2 separate regions of the Homo sapiens genome follow, and region 2 is linked to region 1. Evidence: promoter capture Hi-C in human tissues and cell types (Jung and others, 2019). All regions are on one chromosome and are shown on one strand. Each heading gives the region's core, a stretch centred on a gene start or on the middle of the fragment in contact. The rest is flanking DNA. Distances are from core to core; before and after follow the strand shown.

The links. The method cuts DNA at HindIII sites, captures the fragments that hold promoters and counts their contacts. A contact is called where the count stands out against the background at its distance.
Region 2: a fragment that was not itself captured here is called in contact with the fragment with the promoter of ANXA7 in region 1 in 1 of the 25 tissues and cell types used here (hippocampus).

What each region holds. Positions count from the first base shown.
Region 1 is chr10:73,412,680-73,415,379 of GRCh38, forward strand. ANXA7 (annexin A7) reads right to left here and starts at 1,379. Exons shown (of 13, transcript NM_001156.5): 1 at 1,333-1,379. RefSeq lists enhancers at 393-512, 523-602 and a silencer at 1,003-1,562. The HindIII fragment of the contact is 7,160 bases long and covers 1-2,700 here.
Region 2 is chr10:73,064,678-73,067,377 of GRCh38, forward strand. All of the region lies in intron 5 of P4HA1 (prolyl 4-hydroxylase subunit alpha 1), which reads right to left. Among named protein-coding and RNA genes, the nearest start is that of P4HA1, 31 kb to the right of the region's middle. The HindIII fragment of the contact is 5,132 bases long and covers 1-2,700 here.

The sequences.
Region 1 (2,700 bases), core at 129-2,628:
AGACGGGGTTTCACCGTGTTGGTCAAGCTGGTCTCAAACTCCTCCTGACCTCGTGAATCTCTCGCCTCGGCCTCCCAAAGTGCTAGGATTACAGGAGTGAGCCACCGCGCTCGGGCTTTTTTTTTTTTTTTTTTAAACATTCTCTGTTAGCAATCACTTTTAAAAGACTAGAAAATCATTTTTGGTTTTCCAAACCACCTCCACCCAGTGAGTCAGTTAGTAAAAGGGCTGGGTCTCACCGTTTCTCATTGATGGCATGAAGCCCAGGAACCCAAGAGGCAGCTGTTGCAAATTTATGGGGGAAAAAATACACGAAACAGGAAGGGTGACTGAAGATACGCGCAACAGCGAATACAATTTTGCAAAACCGGCTTCTAGGTATGGTAGGATCATTTAAATCCGTCAGTGATGTGGAGAAAGAACATGGAGGCATGGCTAGTCCTCTGCACGGACAGGTAGGTAGCCAACCACCAGTGAGGACTGAAAGACAGTCCTCACTGAAAAGGACTGAAAGTTTGCAGTGGCCAAAATTATCTCTTTTACCTATTCAGTGCTTGAAACTCTTTCCTTGCCTGGAAGGTAACTCATTACACTCATCATCTAATTCGGACACATTTAGCAGATTAGCTGGCCATCAGCTGGCAAAAATCAGGGCGTTTACGGCAGTCGGAAGACAACAGCGTCATGTCTGTCACTTTACGGTGGACATCAGCCATCTACCTCTGCACCTTGGTTTCCTTGCGCAGTGTTTGCACAGGATGAGCTAATTTCAACACAGATTTGCTGCTGGTCGGGGAACAGCAATCAAATCTGGAATGCTATTCTAGAATAGCTTCCAAGAACTGTAAACGAGAACCAGTGTACGACCTTGGCCTGGCGCATTCTGTCCTACGGTTCACTAAACACAGTAAAAATTTCCCCAAGTTTCCCTAAATTCGCTGTGTCACCGGAAAGTACAGCCACTACCAGCCAGACGGCTTTCAGCACTGCCCGTGCGTTTCCCTACTCAGCCTCCCGCGAGGCAGCTGGGCCACGCTCCGGCCTCAGCCCCTCCACCTGCCCGAGGGCGGGGCGCCACTGGTCCCTGGGATTTCCAAACGGACGGAAGGGCTTCCCGTAAGCCAGGCCGGCCGCCTCACCCACGCCACCCCAACACACCCCGGCCGGCAGCCCGGCTACGAGACGCGCAAACCGAGTCGCCGCCATCCGGGAGGCCCACACTGCCCTCCAGCCGCGCCCCACTAGCACCGGGACAGCAGCGCCCAGAGCTGGCCGAGGGCAAGACCACCGAGGCAGACGAGGTGGGAAAGGGAGGGGGGCGCCGCTCCTCACCTGACCCCAGCAGCAGCGTCACAGCCCAACCCGGTCTCCCGCAAGATGGAGCCGGGGGCGGGCCCAGGGTGGGCGGGGCGTCTCGCGAGCCCGTTAGGATCGCGGCTGCAGCCGGGAACACCCCCGGAGCCGGAGAGGGCGCTGCGGGGAGCGGGCTGTCCCTCAGTCCCGCCCCTAGGCGCCACCTGAGGGAAAAAGACTCTCCCTTCGGGTGGCCCAGCGGATTTTTAATCACATTTATCTGTCGCAAGGACCCTGCACCAATCCCTTTTAAGGCTGCCTCAAGTCACCTAGGAAGTTGCAGCAGTCCTGGGGGTATCCGGGGCCCCTTCAGTGGCGGGCGGTAGAGAAGGGCTGAGACTGGGAGGCTGGTGCAGCCTCCCCGCCTCTGAAATACCGTCCTCCAGGTATTTTCTGGGGACAAAGACGGCGTTTTTTGTTAGCCTCCTGTGAAAGTAATATTTGTGGGAAATCTTAGTTGGAACTGTAGATGAACTAATCAAAATCACTCCCGAAAGGAGTTGTTAGGTGATTTTAGGCTCCCCTCGTGGCTACAGCATTGAACACACATTAGCATTAAACATTTGAGGCAATTACGAGGGCTCAGATCAATATTTTAAACTCGTTAAGGAATTTATATTACAGAGAAAACCAATCAGCTACCTTTTAGAGTGGTAAAAGGTAGCTTCTGGGTGTGGTCCCCCGAACAGCAGCATCACCTGGAAACGTGTTAGTAACGCAGATTATTGAACTCCACCTTAGACCTACTGAATCAAACTCCCCGGGTGGTGCCCAGCAACCTGTTTTAACAAGCCTTCCAGGTGGTTCTGATGCACACTAAAGTTTGCACATCTGATGCACATCAACTTACTTATTCCTCTACACACTTTTCTACCCAAAAGCTTCCTCATGGGGGTGGAATAGAGTGGATTACGATTTTAAATGGGAAGAGCAAGCAAAATATACGTGGCTTCCAAATAGGTGTGTGGAGTGAAAAGTATTTGAGGCAGGTCATTGCCTCATTTAACAATGGTAGACAAAATGCACAACTCTCTAGGTGACCAGCATTAATTCCCCGGCGCCCAACAGTCTGTCTACCTGGAAAATAACAGGACTTTCTGTCCTACCTACCCCAGAGACCTCCAGGATTTAAGCCTTCCCTGAGAAGCCTACTCTGTTCATTCTAGAGTTCCCTTTGTGAGCTCGTTCCAAACCCTCCCTCTGCCTTAAATACCACCATAACAGGGTATTTGCCAAACCTCTTATTTCCAGCCCACTTTCCTGAGCTGCAGGAATAGTCCAATAGTCTACTACGACATTTGCCATTTCATCCTTTCAATTCATCCTTTCTTCCTGGCATAAAAGGCG
Region 2 (2,700 bases), core at 87-2,586, 350 kb before region 1:
TAAAAATAACAAAATTAGCTGGACATGGTGGTGGGCACCTGTAATCCCAGCTACTTGGGAGGCTGAGGCAAGAGAATCGCTTGAACCCAGGAGGCAGAGGTTGCAGTGAGCCGAGCTGCGCCACTGCACTCCAGCCTGGGTAACAGAGTGAGACTCCATGTCAAAAAAGAAAAAGAAATCGATTTTTATGGTTCATCCGTTAAACTGAGAGAGACATCATCCGTTAAACTGAGAGAGACACGTAATCCAAAAATTCTTGCACTTCACAAGAACACTTAATGGATCAAAACTTAATTTGTAAGGGATAATTATGTTTAAAATGCACACACTTAGAAGTTAATGTCCCACCTCTGAGGCAGTGTGGTACACTGATAGCTGAGTGAGCTCCAGAGATGTCTGGAGAATCTACTGTTTGCTATAGTTACCTTATTAACTTACCAAGACAGTGATGCAAGTGACCAGAAGGGTGAACATTCAACTTCCACATGAAGCAAATTGAATTTTGTACATATGACATTTTCTATTACTGACCCCCACCCCCTAAAAAAAATCACAGCTTAAAAAAAAGCATGATATCTTTGGCAGATATGGATCTATTCAACAAATCAGGGTTGGGAACAAACAATCTGAAAACTGAAGGAAGTCCTTAAGAACTATAAGGACAACACTGATGTCAAAATGCATGTAACCTATCAGATTTTTCATTAAAATACCAACAAAGCATTTCAAAAGATAGGCCCAAAGAGGCAAAAGAAACAGATGAAACTAATCAAGGAGTGATGTGGCATCAATATAAATTCACTAAGCATTTCTCTGACTTTTTTGTTTGAAGAAAATTTAAAATACATGCATCCTTCCTCCCTCACCCCCACCATTTCACACCCAGATTGCTAAAATTTTTAAAGTCTGACAAAACCAAGAGCTGGCAAGGATATGAAGAAATGGGAACTCTCATACAATGCTGGTGACAGTATAAATACATGCTCTGGAAAGCAATCTGGCCACATCTGGTAAGTATGATGAAAAACCAAATACCCTATGATTTCTTATACCCTAAGAGAAAGCCTTGCACGTGAGTACATGGCCACAAAAAGAAATCAACAAAGATGTATCAAACTTCATTTGATAAAGCAAAAAATTGGACAAAATCTAAATGTACATCCATCCACAGAAGAATGAATAAATAATGTTATACAATACCACATTAGCAGTTAGATGAATCTGATCAACACAGATAAATTTACTGAAAATATTAGGTTAAAAAAAGGTTGTAGAAAGATACATAGAGTATGATGTACTATTGACATAAAATTTAAAAACACAATACAATGGAAAATATATATGATAAAGTATAAAAAGATGACAGGATACGCACCAAGTTCAGAATAGTCATTACCTCTAAACAAGGGAAGGTGCACAAGAAGCCTTCGAACACATTTGTGATATTTGACTATTAACAACAGAAAATAATCTGGGTTGGGGGAGCCTAAAAACTCTTATGCTAGTATTCATGCTATTATTTTTACCACTTATAGGGTATAATGTGATTAGGAAATTTCAGTTATTCTACTTATAAGGAATTTGCCTGAAAGAAAAGTCAATAAGAACTAGCCCAAAACTGTGATAAAAGAGGAAAAAAGTCAACAAGGAGATAAAAAGCACCTGAGAAAGAATGAATATTGCCCCTAAGACTAAACACAGTGAAATCAGGGTTAAATAATATTCAGGACCATTTTGATGGGAATATAATCATTTTTTAAACAAAACACATATAGTAATCTAAATAACATTTATTACCCACCACCACACATTTGGGAGGCTGAGGTGGGATGTTTTCTTTTTTGCTTTTTGTTTTTTGAGATAGGGGTCTCACTCTGTTGCCCAGGTTGGAGTGTAGTGGCGTGATCACAGCTCACTGCAGCCTTGAACTCCTGGGCTCAAGTGATCCTCCCGTGATATGGTTTGGCTCTGTGTTCACACCCAAATATCACCTTGAATTTTAATAATCCCCACCTATCAAGGGCGGGACAAGGTGGAGATAACTGCATCATGGGGGCAGTTCCCCCATGCTGTTCTTGTGACAGTGAGTTCTCATGAGATAGGATGGTTTTATAAGCACCTGGCATTTCCCCTGCTGGCCCTCATTCTCTTTCCTGCCACCCTGTGAAGAAGTGCCTTCTGCCATGATTGTGAGTTTCCTAAGACATCCGTAGCCATGCGGAACTGTGAGTCAATTAAACCTCTTTTTTAAAATAACTTACCCAGTCTTGGGTATTTCTTCATAGCAGTGTGAATACATCCCACCTCAGCCTCCCAAATAGCTAGGACTACAAGCAAGCACCACAACACCCAGCTAAGTTTTCATTTTTTTGTAGAGTCAGGGAATTGCTATGCTGCCCAGGCTGGTCTTGAACTCCTACCCTCAAGGGATCCTTTCCACCTTAGCCTCCCAAAGTGCTGGGATTACAGGCATGAGCCACCATGCCAGCCCTATTTTGTTAAATGGAATCTATCCAGTTGATGAAGCCAGAAATTCCTATCAAGTACATCATCAAATTCTACTATTCTACTCTAATAAGTAGCTTGATAATCTATCCACTACCACCTCTTACTTAAATATTTGCAACAGCCTCCTCCCTGGTTCTTCGTCCCTTGGCCCCAACCCAATCTCCATTCGGCAGCCAGAATGGTTTTCTAAAA